Linked DNA regions of Homo sapiens: region 2 is linked to region 1. Evidence: promoter capture Hi-C in human tissues and cell types (Jung and others, 2019). All regions are on one chromosome and are shown on one strand. The core of a region is centred on a gene start or on the middle of the fragment in contact, and the rest is flanking DNA. Distances in the headings are between cores, read along the strand shown.

What was found. Contacts are between HindIII fragments. The study calls those that stand out against the background at their distance.
Region 2: the fragment with the promoter of CYP4F22 here is called in contact with a fragment that was not itself captured in region 1 in 6 of the 25 tissues and cell types used here (aorta, bladder, dorsolateral prefrontal cortex and 3 more).

Annotation. Positions count from the first base shown.
Region 1 is chr19:15,101,310-15,105,434 of GRCh38, forward strand. No RefSeq gene overlaps it. Among named protein-coding and RNA genes, the nearest start is that of SYDE1, 4.0 kb to the right of the region's middle. The HindIII fragment of the contact is 6,045 bases long and covers 1-4,125 here.
Region 2 is chr19:15,506,302-15,510,426 of GRCh38, forward strand. It overlaps CYP4F22 (cytochrome P450 family 4 subfamily F member 22), which reads left to right and starts at 2,224. Exons shown (of 14, transcript NM_173483.4): 1 at 2,224-2,282. RefSeq lists an enhancer at 1,868-2,368. The HindIII fragment of the contact is 20,579 bases long and covers 1-4,125 here.

The DNA.
Region 1 (4,125 bases), core at 565-3,064:
AGCTTGGGTCCTGCTCCCCAAAACCTTCTCTATCTCCCATCCCCCAGGAACTGAGCACCCCAGGGAGCTGGTAGAATGGAGATGTAGCCCCACAGAACCACGCCCCATGCCCATAGCCTTGAAAACAGCCTAATTTATTATTCCCTTTGCACATGAAACAGAGGCCTAGACAGAATGTCTGTGTTTGGAGTCCACCAGAAGCCAACCTTGAGACAAGGATTCAAGTATTTAGGAAATAAACAGGAAATACTGTAAGTGGGGTGGATATGTGGGAGAGGGAAGGGAAGGAAGTCAGCAAAGAGTGTATTGATAACCAGGTTTCTACAGTGGACAGCTGGAGCTCAATCCCGTGGGTGAACACTAGGGGTCAGTGTAGAACATGAACCTCAATCATCCAACACAAGGGTGAGGGAGCTGGGGTATTTATCCATCAATTCCCCTTGACTACCACAGAGGTGCTGAGCTCTGCCCAAAACTGACAGGAAATGGTCTTTTGGTCTTTCAACTAATTGGTCTATATGTGTCTGGGGCTGGTTAATCCACCAGGTACCAAAAGCACAGCACATCAGACCTGCAGCCAATGAGAACATTTAGGGGAAAGAAAACACACACGTGGCCAGGTGCAGTGGCTCACACCTGTAATCCCAGCACTTTGAGAGGCCAAGGAAGAAGGATCGCTTGAGGTCAGGAGTTTGAGACCAGCCTGGGCAACATAGCAAGATCCTGTCTCTACAAAAAAAATTTAAAAGCTAGCTGGGTATGGCAGTGCATGCCTATAGGCCTAGCCACTCAGGAGGCTGAGGCAAGAGGATTGCTTGAACCCAGAAGTTCAAGTCTGCAGTGAGCTATGATCACACCAATGCACACCAGCTTGGGTGACAGAGGGAGATTATGTCTCTAAAAATAATAAGGCCAAGCACGGTGGCTCACACCTGTAATCCCAGCCACTTGGGGGGCCAAAGTGGGAAGATCACTTGAGCCCAGAAGTTTGAGAACAGTCTAGGCAACATGATGAGACCCTATCTCCACAAAAAAATAGAAAAATCAGCCTGTGGCATGGTGGCACATGCCTGTAGTTCCAGTTGCTTGGGAGGCTGAGGCAGGAACATCACTTGAGCCTAGGAGGTTGAGGGTGCAGTGAGTTGTGGTAGTGCCACTGCACTACAGCCTGAGCAACAGAGCAAGAAAAATAAATAAAATAATAATAATAAAGTAAATAAAAATAACATGAAAATAATTTTTAAAAAATTTGAGACAGAGTCTTAGTCACCCAGGCTGGAGTGCAGTGGCACGATCTTGGCTCACTCCAACCTCTACCCTCTGGGTTCAAGCGATTCCCCTGCCTCAGCCTCCCGAGTAGCTGGGATTACAGGTGCCTGCCACCATGCCTAGCTAATTTTTATATTTTTAGTAGAAACGGGGTTTCACCATCTTGGCCAGGCTAGTCTTGAACTCCTGACCTCGTGATCCACCCGCCTCAGCCTCCCAAAGTGCTGGGATTACAGGCATGAGCCACAGTGCCCGGCCATGAAAATAAATTTTTTTAAAAGAAAAGAAAATGGGCCAGGCACGGTGGCTGACCCCTGTAATCTCAGCTCTTTGGGAGGCCAAGGTGGATGGATCACAAGGTCAGGAAATCGAGACCATCCTGGCCAACATGGTGAAACCCCATCTCTACTAAAAATATAAAAATTAGCTGCACGTGGTGGTGTGTGCCTGTAATCCCAGCTACTCAGGAGGCTGAGGCAGCAGCATCGCTTAAACCAGGGAGTCACAGGTTGCAGTAAGCCAAGATCGTGCCACTGCACTCCAGCCTGGGCAACAAAGCAAGACTATGTCTCTATAAAAGAAAAGAAAAGAAAATGTACGCATACAGGCTCTAAAATCTGTACAGCAACTAGCAAAATCCACAGGAATAAGCATACAAACATCATTATGAAACTTAGAATTCATAACCATTTCATTACATACAATTTGCAGATAATCTGTTCTCACTTATGGAAATTTCTGATTGCTAAGAAAGAATCAGAGCCAATGGTGAATTAAATAGGCTACATGCAGGCAAATAAAGACAACAGGAAAAGTACAAAAACTCAAAAAGATTTACACAAAATAATAATAATAAATATTTATGTGGTATGTGGGTGTCATATGGGTGGGGCTAAGGGTTGCTCTCACTCCCATGTCAGACCCCAGCTCCTCTGAGACTCTGAAATACCCCATTGGGACCTTAGTCCTGCAGCCTCTACCCTCAACTTGTAAACAGGTATTGTCTTGACCCCTGACTTCTTTCCCCATTGTCAATAGCTGCCTCAAAGACATCTGCGCAGGGATCTCATAGGGAGGAGGGTGCACTCCACCCTTTTACAGACTGATGCCCCCCAAACACACATATCCAAGAAAAGTGAACAGCACCTAGGAGAACTGTATATCAACAGTTGTATAATGAGTATACCAATATATGCATAATGAGAGTCCCAGAAGGAGAGAAGTGAAAGGAGCAGAAAGAATATTTGATGAGGCTGGGTATGGTGGTTCATGCCTATAATCCCAGCACTTTGGGAGGCCAAGGTGGGCAGATCACTTAAGGTCAGAAATTTGAGACCGGCCTGGCCAACATGACGAAAACCCATCTCTACTAAAAATACAAAAATTAGCTGGGCATGGTGACAGGCACCTGTAACCCCACCTACTTGAGAGGTTGAGGCAGGAGAATCACTTGAACCCAGAAAGCAGAGGTTGCAGTGAGCCAAGACCATGCCTCTGCACTCCAGCCTGGGCAACAGAGTGAGACTCCATCTCAAAAAATAATAATAATAATATTTGATGAAATAATGGCCAAAAAACTTCCCAGAAGCCCAGAATTGATGAAAGACATGAATCTACATATCCACAAAGCTCAACAAACTCCAAGTACAATAAACACAGAGAACCACACAAAGACACATTAAAACCAAACACACACAGCCTCCTCGTCCAGGCCTCTTGGACACCCCCTCCTATACAGACCTCCATCACCTGACACCTGATCTCCTACCTGAATATTCAGCAGTGAACAACATAGACAAGCATCACTTGATCACTTGGTGGAGACCCAGTCTGGACGAGGAGGCAGATAAACTAGAACAAACCACTGGGACTGTTAAATTCAAGTTGTGGCAAGTGTTAGAAGAAAGGAAACTGAGTAATGTGATACTGACTAGACAGAGGTGGTGGACAGAAAGGGTCTCCCTAGAAGGTGCCATTGGACCTAAAGGATGAGAGAGAGGTGGCCTCAGAAGAACCAGGGCTTCCCAGGCAGAAGGAACCATGTGTGCAAAGGACCTGAGGCAGAAATAGCTTGATATGAAGGAGAACCAGAAAGGAGGCCATGGTGAGTGAATGGGACAGCCAAAGAGATGAGGCTGGAAGTCTTGTGAGACCATGCTGGGAATCTGAATTTTATTCTAGGTGAGGTGAGCAGTCATAGGAACACTATTCAGCAGGATGGTGCCACAATCTGATTTCAGTTTTAAGTCCACTGTGGGTAATATATGGAGAATGAAATGTAGGGCTAAGACAGGTTATATTTTCCCAGATGGCCACAATATCTCCCACCCTACATCCACTTGTACAATGTCACCTTGACATGCCTCCCATGTAGAGAGGTATAATCTGTGCCCCCTTTCCTTGAATCTGGTGGCAGAAGTGACACAGCATGACACTCAAGGCTGGGTCAGAAGAGATGCAACTTCTTCCTTGTTCACTTTTAGAGGGCTGGGTGGCTGTCTAAGAAGTCTGACTACCCCAAGACCACCATGCTGGAAGGAAACCCGAACCACACGGAGAGGCCTGTGTAGCTACCCTGGTCCACAGCCCCAGCAACAGCTGGCGTCAGTTGCAAGACCTCTGAGTGAAGACACCTCCAGATGACTCAGGACCCTGCCATTTTTTAGTCACCCTCTAGCCTAAGTCTCCCCTGTCCAAACTGAACCACAGCATCTGTGAGCATCATGTAAACCAAAAGGTATCTCAGATAAGTCTCAATAAATTTAGAAAGCTTATTTTGCCAAGGTTATGGACATGCCTGTGACACAGACTTAGAAGCTCCTGACAACATAAACTAGGGTAGTCAGGGCCACTACC
Region 2 (4,125 bases), core at 974-3,473, 410 kb after region 1:
GGCCTTCACCCACTAGATGTCAGTTGCACCACCCTGAATTCCCCCACCCCCACCTCTACCCCCCACCCAGCAGTATGATCTCCTGATGTTGCTAAACATTCCCTGGCGGAAAACTCTACTCTGCTGGGATGGCCCCAATCAACTGCAAACTCAAACAGCTGATGTTTGTCCAGCCTGTGCCCTGTGCCAGGAGTGGGGCTGAACACCACCTCATCACATGGGCTTCTTCTGCATTTTATGCATAGGGAGATGGAGGCTCAGAGCAGCCATGTGACTAGCTCAAGGCCACACATCCACGAAGCCCACTCTTAGTGCTCCAGGCCCTTTCACTTACTCCTCCTTCCTGGTCTCCAGCTCTTTGAGAGCAGAGAAGCCAGGCAGATGGCTTCTTTTCCTTCTCTCTTCCCTAGAACCCCGTATTTAGCCAGTGGTCAGTGGAGATGACCTCCGGGACCTCATCCTTAACCCCTTCCTGGGTCTCAGCTACCCCCACCCTTTGTCTCTGTCCCCTGCAGCCACTGGAGGGGTCCCTCTCAAACTTCACTCTATGTGGATCTCTGCATTTTCCAAAGTGCTTCTAGTAAGCTCCCCCTTGGCCAGAATTACTGGCAAAACAAAATTCATATCCCTAAAAAATAGGCTTTCATGCTGCGTTAATTATGAATAAAAAATTAATAAAATAAGCTCTTCCTCAGAAGTAAAAAAGATTAAAGACACAAATAAATATAAATATTTTTTTTTAAAAGTTCTAGGAGCTGGGAGAATGGCTTGAGCCCAGGAGTTTGAGACCAGCCTGGGCAACATAGTGAGACCCTGTCTCTAAAAAAATGAAAAAAAAAAATTAGCTGGGTGTGGTGGCACGTGTCTGTAGTCCCAACTACCCAGGAGGCTGAGGCAGGAGGATGGCTTGAGCCCAGGAGTCACCCCAGCCTGGATGACAGAGTGAGACCAATCAACTAACAGGGGGCACCTCCCCTACTCAAGCACCATCCATGGCTCCCCACTGCCCACCAGATCAAGATCCAGCCATTCAAACTGGCCTTCACAGTCAACTCCTGCATCCCTCCAGCCTCCACACCTCTCACACTCCAAGGCCAGGGAAAGCCATCTGCTAAGTCACACCCTCCAGTTTCTCTGTGCTTGAGCTCTACCCCCTCTCCTGCACTTGTTGAAATCCAACCTCTCCATGCAGTCCCAGCTCAAGTGTCACATCCTCCACGTCGCCTTCCCTGACCTCATGTCTGCCTCCTCCAAGCAGCAAAACTTCAATTACTTGTGTCTCCTCTTCTTCACCAGGAGACATGCCCCACACCTCCCACGCCCTCTTTCCAAGGGCCCAGCACCAAATGAGAGCGTATTCTTAGAAAAAAGAGGGATAAGGAAGTCTTCTAAGTTTACCACCTGCTGGGGCAAGTGGAGATTCTTGTCTTCTCATCTGTCTGCCCACGTGCTAAGGTCAGCCACACATCCACCCACCGACTCCGGAGGACAGACACATCCAGAGGCGGAGCTGACTCTGTCTCCACACATCTGGAGTAGACGGGTTGGCCAAGGACAACATCCTGGTCAGAGGGTCAAGGTGTCTGGCAGTGGGTGGGGAGGAGTGGCGGAGGGCGGGTTGGCGGGGAGCAGAACCAGTCTGGTGCTGCTTGTTGAGGTTGGAGGTCTTCCTGGAGGAAGAGGCTGCAGAGCCTCCAGGGGTGGGTGCCGGGGAAGCTTAGGCCCAGGATCCAGAGAGAGGGGAAGGGCTGGTTCCCAAGGGCTGGTGGAGCCAGAGAATTCCTGAGGGCCCCAGAGGAGGCTTCTCGGGGGGGTCAGTGGGGCCCCAGGGGGTGATGGTTTAGAGATCGCTGTCCAAGCTTGGGAGCAAACCTGGAAGTAAGGGCCATGGGGGGTGTTGGTGTGGGAGGAGTGTGGTCCAGAGCGGGACTTGGGCGCTAATGCGGCCCAGCAGTGGCAGGAGGGCGGGGAGCCTGATGGTTTGGGACTTCTAGGTGTCCAAGTCTCTGTCTCTCTTCATCTCTCCATCTCAGTCTCAGTCTCTCTCTCTTTCCATCGCTCTCCACCCCTCCACACGCCTATTTCTTGTTCTCTCCTTTTCTAGGGGGCAGCGCTGGAGTCCCCGCCCAGAACCCTGCGGGAGCCCGGGGCGGGATGTCCGGGGGCGGACCCCTCGGCACGGCCGGGCGGGGTTAAAGGGTTGGGCCGTGGGACGGCGCGGTCAGATCCCAGGTAGTGGCGCCGGTGGATCCGGATCGAGGGCAGGAGGCTGAGACCCGCGGGTGAGTGCGCGCGTGGTGAGGGCTGTAACCTGAGCGCGGCCGCGGCGCTGCGCTGGAACCCGAGGCTCGCGCGGTTCGGTGCTGGCGGGGCAAGGGCGAAGGTCTGCGCGCGGCGGCGGGCGGGGCGCAGCCGGCCACGGGGACCCCCCCAGGACCCAGGACGGGGCTGCATGCCCGGGGCACTCGTGGGGAGAGGGGCACGTGGGTGTGTCCCCGACGTTTGCTGCATTTGTGAGTTGTTTTCTTTTTTTTTTTTTCTGTGTGCGCCTCGGAGTCCTAGGCGCATCCTTTTCTCTGGGTATCTGTGATGGGCAGGGGGCCTCCAAAAGACCCCTCTGGTAGTCAGGACATCCCAGATGGGTTCAAGCCCCGCCCTGGGACGCCTCTTTGGGGCTGAATGGGGATTCGCCCTGAGATTTCACCACTGCACGTTGTCTTGACGGGGAGGTTGTAGTACATTCAACCGATGGGGTTAGGCTTGTGGTTCAACTGCTATCAGGAACCCTCTGCCCATCCATGCCAGACGCAGAGCCCCTCTATGAAAAGACGGTGTTCTTCTGGCCCCGAGAGTTGGCTCTGAGGGTTGTGTGAGGTCCTGGGGTTGGTCCCAGGTGATCTTCGTCTGATAGATGCTGGAAGGAAGATGTTTTCTGGCCTCCCAGGGGCCTGGCCCAGCCTGGGTATGCAAGTTGGCCGAGGCTGGCCACCTGGGGAGTCGCAGGCTGGAGAGGCCTAGGCTCAGGGCATCTCTCCTGGTTCATCTGCCCGCTCACAGCTCATTCATGCACTCATTGTGAGTCTCACCGCCCTGTAGGCAAAGGAGATGGCCAGGGCTGGCTGCGTACCCGAAATTCCTCCTACCCTGTGCCCCTTGCTCCACCCCTTATTTCTAGGTCCTGGAGCTGTGCCCAGCCAGGGCTGGCAGCATCAAACTCCTTCTTGTGTAACTCCAAACCCCAAAGAGAAGGAACCTCCCCAAATCTTCCCTACCACCCTCATTTTACAGGCACGGAAACTGAGGGCCAGAGAGAAGAAGCCTGTGCCTGTGGATACCCAGTGCCCAGTGGGAGAGCTGGGATTTGAAAAAACAAGCCCTGTTTGACCCCAAAGCCTCAGTCCACTTTCCGATGTCCCCGGCATCACCAAATGGCCCAGCTTGGGTTTCTGAACAGTAACATTAACTCTGGCCTGGTGTCTGGCGGTGACCCAGGTTGGTATCTGCAGAGGGGCTTGGATGACTTGAGAGGCATTCAGGGAATGGGACCCATCTCTCCTTCCTTCCTTCCTTCCTTCCTTCCTTCCTTCCTTCCTTCCTTCCTTCCTTTCTTTCTTTCCTTCCTTCTTTCTTTCTTTCTTTCTTTCTTTTCTCTGTCTCTCTCTCTTTCTTTCTTTCTTTCTTTTTTTGTTGTTGTTGTTGAGACAGGGTCTCACTTTGTCACCCAGGCAGGAGTGCAGTGGCATAATCATAGCTCACTGCAGCCTCGATCTCCTGGGTTCAAGCAATCCTCCTACCTCAGCCTCCTGAGTATGGAGGACTACAGGCATGCACCACCACTCCTGTCTACTTTTTGTATTTTTGGTAGGGATGGGGTTTCACCATGTTGCCCAGGCTGGTCTTGAACTCTTGGGCTCAAGTGATCCACCCGCCTCAGCCTCCCAAAGTGCTGGGATTACAGGCATGAGCCACTGCGCCTGACTCATCTCTCCTTGTTGATAAAACTTGGACCTGATTCTCCAAACCCCAGATGGCCAGGTCACAATAATGAACGTGATGGCAGCACCAACGGTAATGAGAGATATCATTGATCAAAGGCTTACTATGTGCCTGGAAGATTGCAGCCCC